Regions from separate parts of the Homo sapiens genome. Here region 1 is linked to region 2. Evidence: promoter capture Hi-C in human tissues and cell types (Jung and others, 2019). All regions are on one chromosome and are shown on one strand. The core of a region is centred on a gene start or on the middle of the fragment in contact, and the rest is flanking DNA. Distances in the headings are between cores, read along the strand shown.

Region 1 (6,746 bases), core at 179-2,678, 620 kb after region 2:
GTAGAAACACTATATGGGTCATTCTCTCCCTGTTCGGGTATTTCTGCCTAGTGAGTGGAGGGAGGCAGGTGTACATGGAGCAGGGACTACTGAAGCAGGGCCAGAGGTGTGTGCCTAACACAGCCCTCATAACAGCCATGGGTCATGCAGAAAGGAGGAAAAAAAGGAAAAGAAAAAAAATATGGGTCTTGAATAGGAGCCTTTGTGTCCTACAATGAAATTAAGAGGCAGCTTAGGCTAAAATTCCAGGTGGATTTTTAGTTTGAGCTGTTGTATTTTCCAGTCTAACAGGCCCAGTATTAACAGTGACACCCACTAGTGAGTCGTAGACTACTTATGTTCTTAAAACCTGCCCCTAAACAGTATAAACCCTTTTTCAAGTCATCTTATCCTGACACAGTAGTGAGAGAACCAGGTTTCATTCCTGATATTAGGAGTGCAAAATAATAAGAATTATAATATGAGCTCCCATTTACTGATGATTTGTGGTGCTAGGCACTATGATAAGCATTTTACTAAACTTTGATCTCTCTTACCCTTACCTCAGCCTTGAGAGAACAGTAATGTAAGTTCCATTTATGGATGAGGATTTGTTTTTTTTAACAGCTATAAAACTTGAGATTCAGTTGAAGGTACCCAGGAAGAAGCAGAGCCAGGCCCATGGAACTGGAATGCCCAGGCTTTTTTTTTACAGTGCCAGCCTGTTTCCACAGTAAATATGGGACAAGGAGCTATGAATCAATGTCATAACCGTATCAAAAACATGAGGACCAGGGATTGTGACATAAGAGCTAACATTTCTTGAGCACTTACCAAGTGCTAGGCACTGTTCTAAGTGCTTTCTATATATTATCAAATCCTCAGAGTAGGCCGTGTTGTAGAAGGGATATAATTATGATCCCCATTTTACTGATGAGGAAACTGAAGCAAAAAGAGGTTAAATATCCCACACAGATCACCCAGCTAGTGGCCAAGCCCTCAAATTGAAGGGCTGACACCAGAGCTCACCCTCCTAAGCAGGCGGCAGGGCTCAGGAGCATCACACCAGGGCCCATCCTGCAGTCATCTAAAATGCTGCAGACACACCTTTCCCACACTCACTTTCCCTTCCCAAGTTAGACTTCTCTCTGTAGTTTCTTCTGAATCATCACTGAAAATCAGCTAGATTCTTCCTCACTGAAGGGAGGAGTGTGGGGCCCTTTCATTATTTTTTTACTTTAGGGACTTAGGTTTTTGAAAGAACGTCATTCCTTTGAGCTCTTTCCTTCCTGCATCTCAGAGAAAAGCTCTGGTGTGAGGCTTTAAAATTTCCAGGGCCCTCTTGTATTTTCGGTTGATTATACATCACTTTTGTTATTCATCACCTGTCACTTTTGCTGTTCTTCACACAACAGCTGTGGAGAAATTCCATGCCAGCCACTTAATTCCTCGGTGACCCCAATCAAGCTTTCTGTATGAAATGGGAGTAATGACTAGACCTGACACTGGTGTTAAAAGGATGAGGGGAAGCTATGGAAGGTCCCTGCAGAGCTGATAGGACCATGTCCGAGTCCCCTCTAGCAGGGTCACTCCTCTGTGTTGAGACAGACATGAGAGTGAAGGAAACTTGCTGGTGAGCCCAACTGCTGTCCAGCAGGATGTAAACTCTGCCTCAGCTCCTTATTAGTTCTGTGACATTTTGCAGATTGCTGAACTTGCCCCATTGAGTTAGCTTGGCCCCTTTATTAAAAATCAATTGACCCTAAATTGGCGGGTTCACTTCTTGATTCTGTCTGCTCCGTCTGTTTCTGTGTCTATCCTTAAGCCAATACCACACTGTCTTGCTTACTGTAGCTTTATAATAAATCTTAAAATCAGTTCATGTGAGTTCTCTGACTTTGTTGTTCTTTGCATTTCTGTATCAGTGTTAGAATCAGCTTATGAATATCTAGAAATAAAAGCCTCTGGCTTTTGAGTGAGGTTCATGGAATCTGTAGATCAATTTGGGGAGAACTGACATCTGAACAACAGTTGAAGCATTCAATCCAGAACATGTTAAAATTTTCCTTTATTAAGATCTTTTTCAGTTTCTCTCAGTAGCAATGTTTTTTAGTGTTCAATTTACAAGACGTGCATGTTTTAATCTATTTTTGTAAAGTGGTATTGTTTTTTAAATTTCATCTTCCAGTTGTGTATTGCTAGTCTCTAGAGATGCAGTTGGTCTTTGTGTTGTGACCTTGTATCCTGTGACCTTGTAAAAACTCATTTGTTAGTCTGGCAGCTTTTTAAATATATTTTTTCAGATTTTCCACATATACAATCATATCATCTCTGAATACAGTTTTTCTTCCTTTCATATTTATCTGCCTCTCTTTTTCTTGTCTCACTGCACTGACTAGCATCTTCAGAATGATGCTGAATGGTTAGAGTGGACATCATTGCCTGGTTCTGGACATTAGCTGTAGGTTTTTCGTAGAGTAGGTTGAGGAAATAAATTCTCCTCTGTTCCTGTTTGCTGAGAGTTTTTGTCATGAATGGGTGTTGAATTTTGTCAAATGCTTTTCCTGTGTCTGTTGAGATAATCATTTGGTATTTCTCCTTAATTTTGTTAATATAGTGAAATAAATTCACTTTTCAATGTAAACCAACCTTGCATTCCTAGGATAAACTCCAGTTGGGGTTTCTATTTTTTATTAAAGATTTTAATTCTTATTAAATATTTATATGTTCATAAGGAATATTTGTCTGGAGTTTTATTTAATGTTTTTGTCTGGTTTTGTCATTAGGGAATGCTGGCCTCGTAAAATGAAGTGAGAAGTGTTCCCTCTTGTTTTCTTGAGGACTTTGTATATGATTGTTCTTTGATTAAGTCTTTAGTTCCCTAGTGAAGTCACGCAGACCTGAAATTTTCTTTGCAGGAAATTAATTGTGAATTCTTTTTCTTTTCTAGATATGGAGCTATGCAAATTTTCTAATTTTTCGTGTGTCTGTTGTTATAATTTGTGTCTTTCAAGTAATATATCCATTTCATCTTAAGTATGTTGATATAAGGTTGTTTGTATTCTTTTAATATTTATAAGATATGTAGAGATGTTTCATTTTCATTCCTGATGTACGTCATTTCTTTTTCCCACTTTTCCATAACCAACTTAGCTAGAAGTTTATCAGTTGTGTTGATCTTTTCAAAAGCCAGCTTTAGCCTGGGCAACATGGCAAAAATTAGCTGGCTGTGGTGTCACATGCCTATATTCCCAGCTACATAGGAGGCTTAGGTGAGAGGATCACTTGAACCCGGGAGGCAGGGGCTGCAGTGAACCGAGATCATGCCACTGCACTCCAGCCTGGGTGACAGAGTGAAACCTTGTCCCAAAAAAAAAAAAAAAAAAAAAAAAAGCCAGCTTTTGCTTTTATTGAGTTTTCTCTGTTGTCTTGTTTCATTGATTTCTGCTTTTACTTTCTTTGGGTTTCATTTGCTCTTTTTCTGGCTTCTTAAAGAGGAAGTTTGAATAACTCTGGACCTTTCTTCTTTTCTAAAATAAGCATTTAAAGTTATTAATCTCAGCCAGGCACAATGGCTCATGCCTGTAATCCCAGCACTTTGGAGGCCAAAGCAGGAAGATTGCTTGAGCCCAAGAGTTCAAGACCAGCCTGGGCAATATAGCAAGAATTTGTCTCTACAAAAAATTTTTGAAAAATAGCTGAGCATAGTGACACATGCCTGTAGTCCCAGCTGCTTGGGAGGCTGAGATGGGAGTATTGTTTGAGCGCAGGAGTTCAAGGTTATGGTGAGCTATGATCGTACCACTGCATTTTAGCCTGGGCAACAGAATGTGACCCTGTGTCTTTGAAGAAAAAAAAAAAAAATCAGAAATCTCCATGTAAGCACTATTTTCAGCTGCATTCCACATACTCTGATGTGTTGTGCTTTTATTTTCATTCAGTTCTTGTGATTTATTCTTTCACTTATACAAGTTTATTAGTAGTATGTAATTTAATTTCCAACTATTGTTTTTCCCAGAAACTTTTCTGTTATTTTTCATTTATTTCTGTTGTGATCAGAGATTATATCCTGCCTGATTTTAATCCTTTTAGAATATACCATTACTTATTTTATGGCTTATCATATAATCTATTTGGGTGAATGTACCACATACACTTGGAAAGTATGTATGTTCTGTTGTGAGTGGAGTGTACTGTGTCAATTAGGCCAAATTGGTTGATAGTGCTCAAGTCTTATGTAGAACAACTTGATTTTCTCTGCTTGTTCTGTCGCTTCCTGAGAGAGCACAGTAGAAGGTTCTGTGACTCTAACTGTGCATTTTTCTTTTTCTCCTTTTAGTTGTGTAGGGATTTGTTTCATGTAATTTGAATTTCTGCATACATTTTGGATTGTTACACCTTCAAAGGGTATTACCAAGGACAAAGAGGGACATTTCATAATGATAAAAGAGTCACTCTTTTACCAAAGTAAACAGATGGAAAAAGATGTACATACCACACAATACCATGAAAACTGGACTGGCTATAGAAATGTCAGATAAAGTAGATTTCAGGACAAAGGGTATTACCGAGGACAAAGGGTATTACCAAGGACAAAGAGGGACATTTCCTAATGATAAAAGAGTCACGCAATTTAATTGCGTGCATTTGCAGTTTGCCAGTAATTAATGGCCTTTTGAATCTGCGTATCATGCCATTCTCAGTTCCACCTTTTTTTCTCTCTCTTTTGAGACTGAGTCTCGCACTGTTGCCCAGGCTGGAGTGCAATGGTGCGATCTTGGCTCACTGCAACCTCAGCCTCCTGGGTTCAAGCTATTTTGCTGCCCTAGCCTCCCAGGTAGCTGGGATTACAGGCGCCTGCCACCACGCCCGGCTAATTTTTTGTATATTTTTAGTAGAAACAGGGTTTCACTATGTTGGCCAGGCTGTTCTCAAATTCCTCACCTTGTGATCTGCCCACCTTGGCCTCCCAAAGTGCTGGGATTACAGGCGTGAGCCACCGCACCTGGCCCAGTTCCCCATTTAAGGACCCAGCTCTCTGGAACCTGTTTCTTCCAAAGAAGATACAGGAAAGGAAATAGAGTATAGTGGAAAACTCAGTGGCCCAGTTACACTACTTTAGGTGATGTCAGAATTTCAGGGAAATCCTATCCATATCAGGAGCCCAGCAGAGACCCTCTGTATTTAGTCCTTGAGTCTTCTCTAATATGGTATAGTCAGTCCTTCTTCAGTTATCTTTGGAGTGCCCAGCACCAGGAACTCGTATGTCAGGCAAAAGTATATCATTTTCACTAGAACTCACAGATACGCCCACTAGACCTTTTGCATGCTTTAGAAAAAGACTGGAGTGGAGAGTGGCCATTAAAGATAAGAAAAAGTGCCAGGAAAGGGGCAGCCTCCTTTATCAGGTAATAACAAGAGAAAAATGCCAGACGGGTTGGATGAAGCAGAGGAAACACAGCTTGGAGGAAGAAAACCAGTTTATTAATAATAATGATGGCTACCTTTTATTGGTGTTTACTGTATTCCAGGCACTGTGCTGAATGCTTTTCTTGCCTTATCCCTCAGATGAAGAGCCGGAAGCTTAGAGAGGTTCTCAATGACTTGTCCAAGTGGCACATGGTCAGTGAACAATGGGCGATGAGTCCAGGCTGTCTGATGCCAAAGGCTAAGCTCCTAACTACTGCCCTGCACTACCTCTGAGCAAGAGACTGGGACAGGCACTTATGCATGAGTGTATTCTCATTGTGACCCTGGGGATATAATTTCCCCTCTCTGAATCAGAGTTTCCCCATCATCTTAAAATGGGATTATGCTAAGTAATGGAAATCCTTTGCAGTTCCCAATTCTTGTTTTGTGACAGCATATCTTAAATGTTTCAGGCTGAGGAAAAGGCAGATGCTCTGAATAAGGAGCTGCTGATGACCAAACAGAAGTTGATTGATGCAGAAGAAGAGAAAAGACGGCTGGAAGAAGAGTCTGCTCAGGTAAGGGAACTCTCCCACATTCCTCTGTCTTGCAAATGCTTGAGAACTGGGAGTTCAGCTGGTGGCTTCCTGTTGGCACTAGAAAACCTAGAGACATCTGGCTTCAGTTTCTTTCCAAAGACTTTTTTTTTCCCCCTACTGTGTAAAGTCCAATGGTTCCTAATTAAAGTCTAGGAGGAGACAGTGGGTTGAAGCCCATCCTTTGTTGGGGCAGGAGAATTTCTGTGTATCAGCATCTGAGCATAACAAAGAAGAGGGGGTAGAATTCCTGCAGAAGGAAAGCACACATCATATAATGCCTGGCTGTTTCCCTACTTGTCCTCTGCTGTCTCCCTCATAGAGCAAGCTTGGGAAGTCTTGTTCTGAGCCAGTGCTCCATAGTCATTGGAGACACAGACCTGCAGGCATGGGAAGAGCTCTGGGTGCTGTGCGCCTGGGAGCAGTCCCCTCCCCTGTCACACCACGGTCGTCCAGGAGGCAGGACTGGCTGGGGTGAGAGACTGCAAAGCCCTTTCTACAGAAACCATGAGATGCTGAAAACCCGCAGTCCTCTTATGAGCTCTTTGGTTTGTGTCTGGTCTGTCAGTGAAGGTCCACAGGTTGGCTTGTACTGGCAGGGAAGACCTTCAGCAGAAGCCTCAATCTGAAATGGGGTCTGACGTTTTTGGAAGTTTTAACTGTTCTCTCCCTCTCCTGCATCAGGAACAGGGGATTAGTGCTGCCAAGATTGAAGGAAGAAAGTAGCTGAATTAGAGGACTTCCAGGGTTTGGTTCAGCAGT
Region 2 (6,930 bases), core at 2,080-4,579:
AGGGCTGGGAAGGCATGAAGGAGAGGGGGCTCATGCTTACGTGTCTGAGATAAGAACTATTTCCAAGAAGTTTCTAAGAGCTCCAGAAGACATCTCTTTGTATCTTTCACTCATCTGCTTTGTACAGCTTGCAGGTTTCACACATATACATATGCTTCTATGGCAAGGTTTATCACTAGACATTCTTCAGGACTGCAGTAATTCAGATAACATGCTCTCAAATGGTCATTTGCACAGTAACAGCATCTCTACCAATGAACTGATGACAACTTTAGCTTTGAGCCTCTGGAGCCAGTGGACTCCGTGTCTAAGCAGCTGACACGAACCTCTTCCTTCTTGCCAATGAGAGCTTCCCTTTACCCTGCCCTCACCAGATGCACTGGTGGCTTGTCATTTTGTGCACCCTGGGTTATAATTTTCATTTCTCATTCCTGAATAAACTCAACATATTTGGACATTTCTCTAATTTTTTTTTTCCTAGGTGAATACTTGGCAGGACAACAGGCAGACAAGGAGCAGCCTGGGCTACACCCTCCTCCATCCAGCTTGGCAGGGAAGGTTGGGGCAGGGCCTCGCTAGGAGATAGGGGCTAGAGGGCGAGGCCAGGGGCAGGGTTAGGCATGGGGACAGCACCACGGTGGGGTCTTCCTGGCTCACTGTCCACTACCAGGTACTGGGATCCCCAGTTATTTTATTGCCTCACCATGAAAAGAAGTGAAAGCATTCCCTAAACATAATTTCATCATTGTCTTTATCTCTCTCCCGCCACATTTCTTCTTTTCTATTGCTCTTTCTCTCACAAAAGCAGGGGATATATATGAAACTTGCTAAGTGGTTCTATTGAAGCTTCTTCCATTAAGCTTGAGATAAGGAGAAAAACAACCCTCTCCCTGTTAGGAGGATTTGGGGTTCACTATGCAGCTTTCTCTGAAAGAAAACTTTACAAGACACTCTCTTACCTCCAGCTCTCAGCTCTTTTTAGATCCACATTAGATTGAGAGGCTCAAGTGTTACGATATTGATTATTATTATTATTTCCTATCAATATCTTCATTTTGTGTGTCACAATTCACTTTAATATCTGTTGTCTCCCAGGTCTTGGTGCCTCAGTTGAAACTTCCAATTTAACATCCTGACACACACTACTCCCTCTTCCTGTGATCATCAGAACAAGATAAAACCTTGTGTGTCTGGATAGTTCTCATCTGTTAAGATTCAGGTAAAGAAACGCCTTCTTTGGGAAGTTGTTTATATCCTCTTCCATCAGACTGAGCTAATTATTCCTCTTCAAACCCACACAGTGTTCCATGTAAACTATTATAGTCTTTGCTACACTGAGTCACTCTGGAATCAGATGCCAAGATTCAAGTCTTCCTTTCACGAACTATATGATCTTGGGGTATTCTTCCCCTTTTAGAGCCTGAGTTTTTTAAACTTACCTTTTGGAGTTTTTGTCAGAATTAAGTTAGATGATTTTAAGGTATATTAAGTTCTTAGATCAGTCCCTGAGAGAACTGAGGTGACATTTATTTTGTCACTGAACATCTGTATGTGTTTGGGGAGAAAGGAAGTGTGGGCTATATTCTGGAAGGACAAGACAGCAGTGTGTTAATTATTATGTAAGGAGTGAGAAATGTCATATGTTTTTCTTAAAATTTCTGAAAGGGCTTCAGCTTCCTGGATATCTGGTGCCTGGGCGAAAGAGGAGCCATATCTTCACAAAAGTGGAAAATTCCTAAGAAATAGAGGTGTGAAGGGCCAGACACATTTTATAACAAATTTAAAATCTGGGAAAGGTCAGCCCTGATGGCTTCCTTTTCATACCAGCCAAAGTGACATAACATGCTCAGAATATTTTCCAATTCCATTACCCAAGAAAAGAGCAAACAAAGTCCTATACAACATATCCTATTTTACTATTCCCTCAAACAGATGCAATAATAATATCAGGAAAGCATTTCAGAGTGACAGCTGTGGAAGAAAGACAAGTGAGCTATATTTTCAATAATTTGTATTTCTGTATTATTGAGGAAAAATATTACATGGGATGTTTTAAAAGAAAGGTAAATATCAGTTAGAATAATGGTTTTTTTTTACTCAATAATTTTTTTTTCTTTTTTCTTTTTTTTGACAGAGTCTTGCTCTGTCACCCAGGCTGGAGTGCAGTGGCACGATCTTGGCTCACTGCAACCTCCGCCTCCTGGGTTCAAGTGATTCTTCTGCCTCAGTCTCCCGAGTAGCTGGGACTATAGGCATGCACCACCATGCCCGGCTAATTTTTTTGTATTTTTAGTAGAGACTGGGTTTCGCCATGTTGGCCAGGCTGGTCTCGAACTCCTGATCTCAGGTGATCCGTCTGCCTCAGCCTCCCAAAGTGTTGAGATTACAGGCATGAGCCACTGCGCCTGACCTACTCAAGAGTTTTCTTAGGGCTCCCTTAATGTCTTTATTTCTCAGACTGTAAATGAATGGGTTCAACATGGGAGTGACTGCTGTGTATATCACTGAAGCAATTATGTTCTTGTCATTGGTGTTGCTGGATGGGGGAAGAAAATAGAGACCAATAATTGTCCGATAATAGATAGTCACCACTGAGAGGTGGGATCCACAAGTGGACAAGGCTTTGCATATGCCCTTGGTAGAGGGAATCTGGAGGATGGTGACCCCAATGTGACCATAAGAAACCAGGATGCACAGGAATGGAAGCATAATGGCTGTCAATGCTGCTGTAAAGATTGCTAACTGATTGAGGGAGGTGTCTGAGCAGGACAACTTGAGCAGGGCACCAAGGTCACAGAAGTAGTGAGGGATGATGTGGTCAGCACAGAAGGAAAGCTGGGCCAGGAGGAGGGTATGCAAAAGAGCACACGCACAAGCGATGACCCAGGACCCAGCCACCAGCATGACACACTGGCTCTGAGTCATGATGGTGGCATAATGTAGAGGATGACAGATGGCCACATACCTGTCATATGCCATTGAAGTGATAAGGAAACTGTCTAAGTCAGCAAAAAATATGAAAAAATATGTCTGTGAAATGCATCCCTTGTAAAAGACGGCTAGGTGCTGAGTCTGCATGTTCATCAGCATCTTAGGGACAGTGACAGATGAAAAGGAGATGTCAGTGAGGGCCAAGTGGCTAAGGAAGAAGTACATGGGGGTGTGAAGGTGAGAGTCTAGCTGGATGAGCAGCATGATGAGCAGGTTCCCCAGCACCGTGGTCAGGTACATGCCCAGGAACAGGGCGAAGAACACGGCCTGCTGCTCTGGCCGGATGGGGAGGCCCAGGAGGAGGAACTCGGACACGCTGCTCTGGTTCTCAGGGCTCATGTTTATATCAGCTGGAGGGCACTAGGGAAATTTGAAGGAAAAAAATGGTATGTCTTGGAATAAGAAATGATAACTGTGGCATAGTATAATAGAGATGTTCTTTTGACTTAGAGAATGTCTTCATATTTTCTTACATTTGCCACATATTTTGCTGCAAATGTGCTGAAAAAGAAATGAAGGTTTAGTCGATATAGCTACTTTCTTTCTGAATCTGGTCTCTGTAAATGATAGTACTAAAAGTTGTTTGCTAAATGTTTTTTAATACACTGTTCCAATAGCTGATGTATTGTAAGTGATTCAATAGCCTTCAATATATGAGCTGGGTGGTACTGTTATTATTTCTACTCTTTAGATGTGAAAGCTAAGGCAGACAGTCTTATAGTCACAGCAATAGGAAGAGGAGAAGCTGGGATTTGGACCGAAGTATCTTGACTCCATAGTTTCTTCTGTGGAAACAAAGCAATTATTTGACATTGGAAATCTCATTGCCTTATTTTGTGTGCAATGACCTATTTAATTCTGTATACCCTGCTTGTCTACACAGTGCATGATTATTTCTAATTTATTCATTGTTTATAGACCCCTAATCTTTTTTTAAGACATAACACTTTATTTATTAAAAAACTCTTCCATGTAAACAATTACTCCAAAAGACAACAAAACAAGTTATTTTGAGTGATTTTTCAAAGGACATACCCACATATTTTATCATGATATATATGTACTATTCTAGAAGGTGGGGAGGGTGGTACTGTTGAAAGTCCAGGTAAATAAATCATAATACGAAGTAAGCAACAAGATAGAAAATCTTTCTTATGGTTTCAGATCCATACATAATTGCTCTGATCTTTTTTTGTTTGTTTGTTTGTTTGAGACAGAGTCTCGCTCTGTTGCCAAGGCTGGAGTGCAGTGGTGAGATCTCGGCACACTGTAACCTCCGCCTCCTGGGTTCAAGCGATTCTTCCAGCTAATTTTTTATTTTTAGTAGAGACGGAGTTTCACCATGTTGGTCAGGCTGGTCTCGAACTCCTGACCTCATGATCCACCCGCCTCAGCCTCCCAGAGTGCTGGGGTTACAGGTGTGAGCCACTGCACCCAGCCTAATTGCTCTGATCTTTTTAAAGTTTAAGATAAGTGTAAGATATTTAATTCTATGTTTGAATATCAATGTGTAGCGCGAAAACATATATATATTCCTCCAGGCTCAACCACACATGTGACAATGTCTCTTGGGGACGCAGCGGTGAATTCCTCTCACAGTATGTCTAAGGAGCATTGGCTCAGTGAGATTTCACATTCAGTGGATTTCAGCCATCTCATCAATTTCTCCATGCTACTGAAATCTCATTGTTCCACTCAGAATTTGTCTTTTCCCCAGGATGGCTTTCAAAGCATTTTACTGACTGTGTCAAGCCAGAGTAAGTAAAATGCTGATGAGTTTGGATTTCCTCCTCCAGTCTCTCGGCCTTTGTGTTTTATTGTTTTGTATCTCATTTCTATATGACATCAGATGCTGTATTAGAAATTCCTGCTTGATCTTGAAATATATCAAAGGTACTGACTGATGAGGCATTAAACACAACTTAAATTCAGTCTTTAATCACTACCACTTTTAAAACATTTAATAGTGTAATTACGAAAAATTCATAAAGACTTGGAAACTTCACATCATAATAAATTCAGATATTAGCGAGGCTGTCAGATGCTGTTACTCTATTCTAAATACCAGTACCAGAAGGACGAGACAATTTCTCAACATATTTGGAAATAATACTTCAGGTTAAGATATGAGCTGGATGTCTTATTTTGGTCTATTCTTTTTCATGTTTCCATGTTCCTTTCTCTTTTTCTTGAAAGATTAGACCTAGAATCTATCATAACCAACTAATGCATACTCTATATAAATTTGTTGATCAAATAAAATGTTAGAGCTATTTAAATTTATCATAACAGCTTTATTAAAAAACTTTTACTGGGCTTAGTTCAAGAACCAGCTTTGCTCTAACAATCCTGGGGCCCCATGTTATTTAGTTGCCACATGGCCTCACATTCAAAGAAATACAATCTAAAAGCTAAAAGTAATTTTAACAGGAATTCTGTTCTTTCAGCATCTCTGAAATAGCTTATAAGCGATTTATTTTTCAACTCACATCAATATTTATCAAAGTACTCTTTTTTTTAATAAAAAGAGAGGGCAGGGATTCACTATAACATATCACAGCTTGTTACAAATAATAAATATTTGCAAGTGATTAAAACAAATAAATATTTGCAAGGATAAACCAATAAAATAATGAAGAAAAATATAGAGCTTAGAAATAGACATGTTTATAATGAGGACCATGAGATTGACAAAAGTGCATTATAAATCAGTGATAAAGTAGTAAAAAGGAAGAACTGTTCATTAAGTGGTGCTGAGGAAGTTGGCTATCAATAAAGGAAAAATAATACTATATCCCTACCTCACATCATTAGAAAACTTTATAGATTATGTTTATGGCCTTAGGTTAAAACATATTTCTTTCTAACTTGTATTTTATGTTCAAGGGTATAAGTGCAGGTTTGTTACGTAGGTAAACTTGTGTCATGGGGGTTTGTTGTACAGATTATTTCATCACCCAGGTATTTCTTTTTTTTTTTTGGCTGTTGAATCCTTTTGAAGGATCTAAAAACAAATTTTATTAGAAAGAAAATGTATTTGCTTCTTTTTTTTATTATTATACTTTAAGTTCTAGGGTACATGTGCACAACATGCAGGTTTGTTACATATGTATACATCATCACCCAGGTATTAAGCTTAGTACCCATTCGTTATTTTTCCTGATCTCTCCCTCCTCCCACCATCCACCCTCTATTTTTTATTTTATTTTATTTTTTATTTTTTGTTGAGATGGAGTCTTGCTCTGTCACCAGGCTGGAGTGCAGTGGCACAATCCCGGCTCACTGCAACCTCTGCCTCCCGGGTTCAAGTGATTCTCCTGCCTCAGCCTCCCGAGTAGCTGGGATTACAGGTGTGCACCACTACGCCCAGCTAATTTTTGTACTTTTTAATAGAGACGGGGTTTCACCATGTTGGCCAGGATGGTCTTGATCTCTTGACCTTGTGATCTGCCCGCCTCGGCCTCCCAAAATGCTGGGATTACAGGCGTGAGCCACTGCGCCCGGCCCCATCCACCCTCTAAAAGGCCCTAGTGTGAGTTATTCCCCTCTATGTGTCCATGTGTTCTCATCATTTAGCTCCCACTTACAAGTGAGAACATGCAGTATTTGGTTTTCTTTTCCTGTGTTAGTTTGCTAAGCATAATGGACTTTGGCTTCATCCATGTCCCTGCAAAGGACATGATCTCATTCGTTTTTCATGGTAAAGCGCATTTCTTAATCAAGATCCCCAAAGCACACAGGATAAATGAATCTTCCTTTAAGTTTGATAACATTAAAATGAAGTTTCATTACGACAGCAACCACCAACACCACAAAGCCACAGATGGGAGAATATATACTGCCACAAATCAACAAAACACTAGTATTCCGGACACATAGAGAACTCCTATAAATCAATAAAGAAAAGACAAAAGCTCAATAAGGAAAAGACAAGCTCAA

What was found. Contacts are between HindIII fragments. The study calls those that stand out against the background at their distance.
Region 1: a fragment that was not itself captured here is called in contact with the fragment with the promoter of OR1J1 in region 2 in 1 of the 25 tissues and cell types used here (hippocampus).

What each region holds. Positions count from the first base shown.
Region 1 is chr9:123,091,880-123,098,625 of GRCh38, forward strand. RABGAP1 (RAB GTPase activating protein 1) reads left to right here. Exons shown (of 26, transcript NM_012197.4): 22 at 5,862-5,966. Among named protein-coding and RNA genes, the nearest start is that of MIR600, 16 kb to the right of the region's middle. The HindIII fragment of the contact is 4,152 bases long and covers 1-3,504 here.
Region 2 is chr9:122,474,597-122,481,526 of GRCh38, forward strand. It overlaps OR1J1 (olfactory receptor family 1 subfamily J member 1), which reads right to left and starts at 3,330. Exons shown (of 1, transcript NM_001004451.1): 1 at 2,362-3,330. The coding sequence starts at 3,330. The coding sequence ends at 2,362. It also overlaps a transcript of OR1J2 not described here. The HindIII fragment of the contact is 7,011 bases long and covers 1-6,781 here.